2 separate regions of the Homo sapiens genome follow, and region 1 is linked to region 2. The links are contacts of gene promoters, found by promoter capture Hi-C in blood cells and fetal thymus (Javierre and others, 2016). All regions are on one chromosome and are shown on one strand. Each heading gives the region's core, a stretch centred on a gene start or on the middle of the fragment in contact. The rest is flanking DNA. Distances are from core to core; before and after follow the strand shown.

Region 1 (4,706 bases), core at 124-2,623, 1.1 Mb after region 2:
ACCCATAAAACTGAGGCTTCCCCTCTCTAGATCCTGGAATCCACTGTTCTCTCCTCTATGAAAGGGTGCAACTGGATATAATAGTATAACACCCCTTTCTCTTAAGTATTTTGTCAGTTTTTTATTGTAGTAAAATATATATAACACAATCTTTTTCAATGTAACAATTTGTTGCTAATTCAGTGGCATTAAATATATTTACAATGTTGTGTAACTTTTACCACTATCTATACCCCAAAATTGTCACTATCAACAAAAACTCCATGCCCATTCAACAGTAACTCCTCTTTCCCCTTCACCTGAGCCTCCAGTGACCTCTATTCTACTTTCTGTCTCTAAAATTGGCCTATTCTAGGTACCTCATATAAGTGGAATCATATAATATTTGTCCTCTGTGTCTGGTTTTTATCAGGAAGCGTAGTTTTTAATAGTACATCCACGTTATAGCATGTATGAGAGTTTCATCCCTTTTCGTGGCTCAATAATATTCCATTGTATGGCTAGACCATATCTTGTTTATCCACTCATCTGTTGGGATGCACTTGGGTTTCTACTTTTGGCTATAATGAATAATGTTGCTATGAACATTGGTGTATAAATATCTTTTCAAGTCCCTGTTTTCAATTCTTTTGCATCTATATCTTGAAGTGTGATTGCTAGGTCATATCATAATTCTATGCTTAACCGTCTGAGGAACTGCCACACTGTTTCCCAAGGTGGCTGCACCATTTTACATTCCCATCAGCAATAAATCCAGGTTCCAGTTATTCCACATACTTGCCAACACTTGTTATTTTCCTTATTTTTTTATTATAGCCGTCCTAGCGTGTCCTAGCATGTGTGAAGCTGTATCTAAGAACAGTTTTAAGTATAAATGTTATATATGAATACAATTTTGTTCTGACAAATTCAAACCCAGAATAGAATTTAAAAATCCACTTCACTGTAGCCACGTCCAACCTCCTTCCCCTCTCCAGAGAAAATCACTGTTAAAAATTTGGTATGCATCTTTCCTGATCTTGTTCTCTGCATTTGTGTTCTTTTTTTTTCATATATGGATTTTTTTTTATGGCAGAATTTTTATATATTTATAAATCAGTTGGGAAAAGGTAAACTATTCAATAAGTGATGCTGGAACAAATGAGTCTCCATATGGGTTCAGAAGGAAAATTTTGCCACCCACCAAAAAATTAAGATGAAATAGACACGAAACATGGAAAACAAAACTATAAAACTTACAGAAGAAAACACAGGAAAATATCTTCATTATACGTGGGCAAACACAGATTTCTTTTTTTTTAAATTTTATTTTTCCATAAGTTATTGGGGTGCAGGTGGTATTTGGTTACATGAGTAAGTTCTTTAGTGGAGATTTGTGAGAACCTGGTGGACCCATCACCCAAGCAGTATACGCTGCACCATATTTGTTGTCTTTTATCCCTTGACCCCCCTCCCACTCATCCCCCCAAGTCCCCAAAGTCCATTGTATCATTCTGCTTTTTGTTTTGTGTTGTTTTGCATTTGTATTCTTATGTGTGCGTGAATGCAAGATTATGCGTAATGGAAACATAGCCATTCTGTCACTGTCAGTTTTCTTCCTTCTTTCCAACTGTTCCACTGTTGTTGTTGTTTTTTTCTGTTAGAGAAGTTCCACTTCGAAAATTTTGCCCTTTAGCTTGTACTGCTGGTTATAACGTGGTCTTTGATTTCCAGGAAGAGTATGCTGTGTTGGCTGAAGTCACTAGCAGAAGAACTTTGGTGTCTGCCTCATGTAGAATGCATTGCCTAGGTCGTCTCAGGCCTGATCTGAGCTGAACTTCTCCTATCACATATGCCAACAACTCTTTATGCTTCTCTCTTTCTCTGAAATTACCTTCTTTTGTCTGGAAAAAAAAGGAATGAGGAAGATTTTTCACCCCTTCAGAGAAAACAACTATCCAACAGGACGAACGTGGGAAACAGCCAGTGTTTGGTGAGAGATCGCCCTCTGCTGCCTGTGTTAATCAGGGTTCTCCAGAGCAGCAGCCAATAGGAAAGATAGATACATTTGTAAGGAGTAACATAATACATATAAATATACATATTTAAACATATATATTTAGATTATAAATATAAATCTATGTCTATATTATATATAAATATATACAAGTTGGTTATAAGGAACTGACTAACACTGTTATGGAGGCTGGCAAGTTTCCAGATCTGCAGGGTGAGTTGGCAAGCTGGAGATCCAGGAGAGCTGATAATGTAGTTCCAGTCAGAGTTCGAAGGCCTGAGACCCAGGAGAGCTGATGACATAGTTCCAGTCCAAAGCCCAGCAGGCTCAAGACTCAAGAGAAGCCGATGCTGCAGTTTGAGTCCAAAGGCAGGAAAAAGCCAATGTCCCAGTTTGAAGGCCTTCAAGCAGGAGGGATTCTCTCTTACTTGGGGGAGAGTTGGCCTTTTTTTTCTATTCAGGCCTTTAACTACCTGGATGAGGCCCACCCACATAATGGGTGGCAATCTTTACCCAGTCTCCTAACTCAAATGCTAATCTCATCCAGAAACACCCTCACAGACACACCGGGAATGACGTCTGACCAAATGTCTGGGCACTCCGTGGCCCAGTCCAGTTGACACATAAAATTAACCATCACACTAGCCATATGGGCCTTTTAGGGAGCCTGAACCCATAGCAGGAAGCTCTGGTGCCTTGAGCAATTGTCCGGATGGGCATTATAGGCAGTTAAAATTCTAAGCAAGAAAGATTAAGAAAAAAACAAAAGCGTGTAGGCCAAACTGGAGAGAAAGAGAGTGCAGTGGCAATGCTATTCGGGTTTCTTTCCTGCTCAGAACCCCGTGATGACTCCTCATCCCCCATAGAACATACCCTTACCTTATGGGGTTTGTGAGGCCTGACTCACTGCCTGCCTCCTGCTGCCACCACACATGCTTCTTCACTGTTCCTCACTTGTGCCAAGCCTGTTGCTGTTTCAGGGCCTTTGCACTTGCTGTTCCATCTGCCTGGGCACTCTTTCCCAGATCCTTACAGGGCTTCATGGCAAGGCCTTCCCTGACCACCCTCCCCAAAATAGCACCCCCTCCATCCATTTCCGCCTCCTTACCCCCCTTTATTTGTTTGAGCTTGTTTCCTGTCTTCTTCACTAAAATGTAAATTCCACGAGGCCAGGGACTTTATTTTTTTTCTCTGCAAGGCCTGGATCGGAATAGGTGCTAAGTATTTGCTGAGTGAGTGGATAAATGAATAAATGAATAAATGCAAAAGATAGAAGGAGGGGACAGATCTAGTGATGGATAAAAAGCACATACGAAATGGTGTGGATCCTAACGAATAATTAATCTGGGGAAAGCTAAAGCTGAAAATGAATTGAGGCTTTAAGAAAATGCTGAAGACAGATAAGTAAAATGCCTTTTAGTCAGTGTAAGGAAGTGTGAGAGCAATTTCTTGGAAGAAAATAAATCCTCTTTTGTTGGCATTTTTCCTTCCAGAAGATTGATCTTCAAGCTAAAGAAAAGTTGGAGGAGAGGGAGGAGAGAGAGCGGGAAATCCAGACAGCTGGTGAAGTTGCTAGATCCCAGAGGCTCCAAGGAGCGATTGATTGCAGGGGATGTCTAGATAGTGACAGAGAAAGCGTCATAGAGATCCCCAGGCCCCAGAGCAGCAAGGAAGCAGCAGCCTCATGCCCTCAGGCATGGCATAAAAATAATGCTAGAGCTGCCTCACTGAAAAAAATCCCGAAGGGCCAGGAAGCAGGCTGAACTCAGCCAATGTCTGTATGGACAGAGGATCTCTAAACCAGCCCCCACCCCCAAACACACACACACACACACACACACACACACACACACACACACACACAGAGCTATGGCACAATGCTATGGGTTTGCATATTTTTCTCCATGCCCCCCAGAATGATGTCCAAATCTAGAGCAGTGGGTGTGAATCTTGGCTCGTGAACTCTTTGAACAAATCTGATGAAAATTGCCACATGTGCATTATTTCAGGGAATTTAAGGAAATTTCAGGAATTCTCCTCCAGGCGATTCATGGACACCTGAAATCCAAGTGCCCCAGGTTAGAAACTCCTGTTCTAAGGGTATATTCCTCAATTGCAGCACTTGGATTAATGATGTAACTCCTTAACCCTAGAGTTGAAGATTGCAGCCAAATTCTTAGTGTATTCATTCAACAAATATGTATTGATTGACTGTCATGTAGCTTATTTAATCCTCACAACTGCCCTTGAAGTAGATTATATTAATACCACCCTCACTCTTGACAGATGAAACAAACGAGGTACTGGGGCTTTGGGTAACTTGCTACAGGTCACTCATTTTGCACTAGTCACTAGTAGGAGCAGAGCCAGTGGTGGAACCCCAGAAATTCAGCTTTAGAGACATTTTACTGCTACCCCACGATGCCTCTTACGAGGTTGGCATCTGTCTTTCAGATAGCCCCGTTCACCCTGAAAACATGTCTCTTAGACTACATATAGTAGGTTAGACATGAAAATCCCACCACCAACGACATCCGGAGGCTCTGTCACCCTGCCTCTGCTTATTCATCGTTCCCATGGTTTGCTGACTCAGTTTTAATCATTGGTTTACCTTCTGGATCTATTTGTATGAGGGATTGCACAAATATTTCCCCACATCCAACATCTCGCAAGGAGATGGACTCACGTGCATGTTCAAGTTCAGTCTCCA
Region 2 (5,405 bases), core at 712-3,211:
AGAGATGTCATGCGCACTGTGTGGGAAGAATGAATGCAAGTGCTCCAGGTCCACAGTGGGAGGAAAGGCATTCTGGGCAGTGGGAAGTAGAAGTAGCCTCATGTGGCTGGAGCCAGAAGCTAAAGTGGGAGTGCCAGAAGGAGGGCAGAAGCCATAGACCCTTGTGCACATACTGGAAGAGCTGCTTTTTTAACAGTCAAGTGCACAAGGGTCTATGCGGTGTTAAGATCACGATGGGAACATGCTGGTGGGCTAGGAAACTCAAGAGGTTAGTTCCAGAAGAGTCTGTGGAATTCTGCCCCACAGGCTCCGGAGGCATGGGGGGAAGGCCATAGAAGAGCTGTCGTGGGTAAGGAAGATTCCTGCAGCCGTGAAATAGCAAGCAAGCTAGGGAAGAACTCTAACAGGAGGCAGAAATGGAAGGGAAAGCACCATGCGGGGAGAGAAGTGTAGAGGCAGGCATCGGGGGAGCTAGGGGAGCCAGGCCCTGGGGGTTGGAGGGGAGGCGGCCGGTGGCAATGAAGGCCTTCGCCCACCCCTCTTCCGCCCCCTGGCAAGGCAGGTTGCTAATACCCGCCCTGGGATAGGGGTGGGAGTGGTTCTGGAACCGCCTTCTGAGACTCATTCCCATCAAAAGCAACACTTGGGGTGGAGGGAGGAAGAGGACGCCAACCCCAGTGCCTGGCCGGGTTCTAGATGTGCAGAGAACAAAAAGGAACCCTAAAAACCCAGCATCCCCTTCTCCGAGGGAGGCTTTCCTAGACCCAGAACCTCAGCCCACCCGGAACCCCTTTGCCCCTCTCTTAGCAGTGGACCTGTCATGTGGTTCCTCCTGGACTAGTGTAATCTCTGCTATGCGTCTTGTCCTGCCATGCTGAACTTCTCACAGTGCGGCCTCCGAAGGAGCCCCCATCTAGCGCTCCTTGCAGTCGCAGAAGATTCCTTCTCCCCTTACTGAGCCTTAGAGTTTTCCAAACCCATTTCCTCCTTCAAATCGCTGCAGCCTCGCGAGGGAGGCAGAATTCTCCCCATTTCTCGGACTTTGCAGGAGAGAAGCCTGCCTTCCCGGGGCAGGGTGGGGGTAGGTAAGTGAAGAAGCCAAGGTCACCCAGTCATTGGCGGAACGCGGCCTCGACTCGGTCCTTCTTCTGAGGGCCCTGTGGATCCCTGGCAAGGCAGGCCTAGGTTGCAGGCTAGCCCCCCTCTCTTTTCGTTGGCCCCAGGAGCCCGGCGGGCCTGAATGGCAGGTGAGCCCGGGGGGTGGGGACAGGACGCGGGTTGGGCTGCGCAGGGACGCCTGGCGCGCGGGCCTTGGGAGCGGCCGCCGGAGCTCCCTGCTACGCCGTATCTTCCGAGGGCCCACGCCTTGGGTCACGACTGGACCAGGGCTTTGACCAAGGGTCCTCTGTGTGCCCCAGGCCCGCCAGTCAGGCCCCGCCCCCCGGCGGCACGGGCGGGGGCAGGGGCGGCGCCGGCAGAGTGGGGCGCGGGCGCGCGGTGCTCGGTGCGCGCCGCCGCCCCTCCGGCCCGGCTTGCCCGCCCGCTCTCCCAACCCCCTCGGCCCACTCCGTCGCCCCCACCCCTCCTTCCTCCACTCGGCCAGGCGGCCGGCGGCCCGGTGCGCGGGGCAGCGCGACGATTGCGGCCTGGCGATCGGGGCACTGCGGTCGTGGCGCGCGAGGCGCGGGGCGCGAGGCCAGCCCTGGAACGGCGGGGTGTGGGGGGCGGGCAGCTGCGGAGCCCCCAGAGGAAAGCAGGGGCAGGCAGGGGGGTGCCGAGGTAATGGGCCGGGCCTGGGCGCCCGGCTGCGAGGGGCGGGGGTTCCAGGCGCACTTCGGCCCTGGAGGGGCGGGCGACAGGGTGCCCGGGGCGGTGGGAGGGCAGCGGGGAGGGGAGGAAGGGAGGGAGGAGACGGCTGGGCCGGACCGGGGGGCTTGGCCGACGGGGAGCAGGTGGGCGGGGACAGGGCCCCTGCTGGAAGAGGCGCAGCAGCGAGGTGGCGGGCTGCGTGCGCAAACAGGGCGGCCGCCTTCTGGGCCCGGAGAACGGTGAGGCCATTTGGGTTGGGTGTCCCAGTCCCGAGGGCACGGTTCGGTATCCAGGGCCAACGAGCTGGGTGCAGGGCATTGTTGAGGAGGGAAGATCTAGAGGCCTGTCCGGGCCAAGGGGATGGGGCGTATTGAACAGCTCCGGGAGAAGAGTGTTGCTGGGTCAGGGCGCTGGTGTCCAGCGAAGGTGGGCGAGGACAGGCACTTTCAGGGCTGGCCTGAGTGGAAAGGGACAAGGGGGCCCCAGAGTTTGAGTTTGAGCATAATTTGGGAGTTGTCGTGTCACTGGGTGGGTCGATGAGTCATGCGATTTGGAGAACCCTTTCCTGGCGATCAGTTCTGAGGGATGGAAATAAAGTCTAGGGTTTGGAGAAGTGGTTTGGAGGCCATGTCTTGGGACACCAGGTGCTCTGGTGGTCACCAGGCTTCATGTGAGGGACTTTGGGAGTTGTGTCCCAGAGGCCTGAGATTCAGAAGCTTCAGTCTGGGGTGGAGTTAAGCAAGGTCTTTGTGGTGGCCAGTTCCCTGCCTTCCTTCCTTTCCAGGCTGTCAGGATTCAGCTGTGTTCCTGCGGGGAGTGGGTTAAAAATTCCTTCCGCCTACAGTCAGCTTTACAGTATCCACCAGGGGCATGGGGGACATATACATGTGTGGCTGCAGCATCATTCTTTGTCGTGGAGCCCTCACGATTGCTTCCTTATTGTTGCCATAGTAACTGTCTACTGATGGTGTATTTATAGGGGAAGAAGCAGGCGCTACATTTTGGGGAGGGAGGGGGAAGAGGCCTCGTGGCAGGCAGCAGCAGCAGTGAAGGTGGCTACAGAATTGCTAATGGAGTGGGCCATGCCATGGGAACTGTTTTGGGGGTGTTCCTGGCTCGACTGAAGCTTAAAAATGAACTGGTGACTTTAGCAGGTGCGTCAGGATAACATGTATTCGGGTCTATGATAGGTGTGACATATAGCCACCTTTGACCAAGGCTAGGTGTGTGGGGGACAAAAGATGGATATATGTAATCTATTATGTAAATTTTTCTCCATTTTTTTAAAAAACCACTGCAGTTTCCTTTGATAAGCATATTTTTCTCTCTTCCCTTATTAAGACTATATGCATTCTTCTCAAACCCAGATACAACAGCTCCATTTTTCTTCAAGCAAAAAATCCTTGCCATGAGGCATACTATATCCACACCCTCACCACATAAAGCTCAGGTATCCATAATGCAAGCAGAATTTTGAGATCATATTCCATCTTGGTTCTGACAAACATTGAGGGCCAACTGTCTCACAAGGCAGGCCATCTGTTGACAAATTCACATGTTGATAGTTTTGAGGGAGATTGTTGCAGGGTTCAAAAGAGAAAGCCCCTTGATGTGGCGTTTCCACAAATAGATGTCAGATCTGCTGTTTTACCTTTAATTTTCTTTTCTTTCTTTTCTCTCTTTCTCTCTTTCTTTCTCTCTTTCTTTCTTTCTTCCTTCCTTCCTCCCTCCCCTTCCCTTCTCCTTCTTTCCTTCCTCCTTCCCTTCCCTTCTCCTTCCTTCCTTCCTTCCTCCCTCCCTCCCTTCCTTCCTCCCTCCCTCCCTCTCTCCCTCCCTCTCTCCCTCTCTCCCTCTCTTTCTCTCTTTCTCTCTTTCTTTCTTTCTGGCTTTGTAACCCAGGCTGGAGTGCAGTGGCGCAATCTCAGCTCACTTCAATCTCCGCCTCTCTGGTTCAAGCGATTCCCCTGTCTCAGCCTCCAGAGTAGCTGGGACTACAGGCATGCACCGCAGCATGCCTAACTAATTTTTGTATTTGTAGTAGAGATGGGGTTTCACCATTTTTTGGTCAAGCCAGTCCCAAACTCCTGACCTGAGGTGATCCGCCCGCCTCAGCCTCCCAAAGTGTTGGGATTATAGGCATGAGCCACCGCGACCAGCCTAAATTATTGATTTATATCCTACCTGTTTGCCAAAAGGATTAGGTGGCATATTATAAATGCACAATAGGACACTGGAAACATAAATAGAAAGCTGTATACCACATCGCAGGACAGAAGCATATGTGCTTAACAGCTGGGCTTCCAGGGTGCCTGTGCTTGACTGGCAATAGTGACGCTGAACTTCCTGGCAGCCTAGGCAAAAAGGAGGGCTCAATGGATTCCACAGTTCACGTGTCTTGCATCCAGTTAGTCATCAAACCAGAGCTTCTGCTTGGGGAGGGGAGCAGTGGGGTGATTGCTCCCAGATGTGGACAGCTCAGCAAGGGCTCTAGAATGTGTGTATGAGTGGGCGTGTGTATTGTGGGGAGGGACAGAGGGAGCAGTGTGCTGTGACCATGGTTTAAGTACTGGCTGGATAGCTCCTTAGCAGGAGAAAGGCTTTCTGACAATAGCTCACATTAGGGGCAACTCTTGTAGTTAGCGTCTCAGTGTCGGGCATCTAAATTCATGTCTTGGCACTCTACTGCCATGGGCTTTAATGCAAAGAGAGAAGAGAGGCCTGGTTCCAGAAGATTCCAGGTATCTTGCCTCTTTGTCTGGTGAAGATGAACACAGCGGGTCACCTGGGTTTGGGCCTTCTGATTATGCCTGGGAATATGAAGAATGCAGCATTGTTGTGCATGGAGGATGAGACCCTGTAGAAGATGTGTCCACTGAAGGTTGCTATAGGCTAGTCCCAGCAGGGCAGTGACTTTTGAGATGGTTGATGCTGTGTTAAGCTTTGTTTTCAGGGAACATGCTTGTCATTGGAGGTATCTGTGACTCACCATTGTGCTCAAAATTAGTTGTGAATTCTGGTCCTGCCACTGTCACTGTTGATTTGCTTAACCTTGTCTGAGCCCGTCTCTCTGGGCTGTATCTCCTCATCTATCTCTGAGGTCCTTTCCAATTGGAAGTTGCAAAGATTCATTGAGGGGAGCAAGGAAGGAGGAGCCTCAGCCTTTAGGAGCTTTCCTTTTTAAAAGAAAAAGGTCAACCCTTGGTTCTTATAGATGCTCAGAACATGTTCTTGGGGGAAAACGCTGAAAGGTTTGCTTTGGGCCCTACTGGGCCTGGGGAGGTCTCTGGAGAAGAGCTTGGGGCAGAATGAGAAGCAGCGGAAGCCATGGGTGGCTGCATGGAGGACGACGCACCCCACAAGGTGCTGCTTCAACCTTTTGACCACGCCAGTGGGAGGGGGGCACATCCCAGAGCCAAGAGTGTGCCCTGTAAATTTCTAGATGTGGTTTCACTGCAACTTTGCTTTTCTCTTACTCCAGAGAAGTGAGACCCTGCAGCTGAGGGAGCATCATGGCAGGTGAGTTTTTCCAGGCCTGGGCAGAGCCGTGGAGGGCCATGCCTAGGGGTTCATGAGTCAGGTTTCAAGTCCTTCCCAGC

What was found. The method cuts DNA at HindIII sites, captures the fragments that hold promoters and counts their contacts. A CHiCAGO score of 5 or more calls a contact.
Region 1: a fragment that was not itself captured here is called in contact with the fragment with the promoter of PRRG3 in region 2 in 1 of 17 cell types (M2 macrophages); the score reaches 5.2 in M2 macrophages.

The regions. Positions count from the first base shown.
Region 1 is chrX:152,815,307-152,820,012 of GRCh38, forward strand. No RefSeq gene overlaps it. Among named protein-coding and RNA genes, the nearest start is that of CETN2, 13 kb to the right of the region's middle. RefSeq lists an enhancer at 3,888-4,706. The HindIII fragment of the contact is 6,690 bases long and covers 1-4,706 here.
Region 2 is chrX:151,693,497-151,698,901 of GRCh38, forward strand. PRRG3 (proline rich and Gla domain 3) reads left to right here and starts at 1,962. Exons shown (of 4, transcript NM_001372163.1): 1 at 1,962-2,048; 2 at 5,288-5,325. The coding sequence starts at 5,319. The HindIII fragment of the contact is 4,373 bases long and covers 1-2,523 here.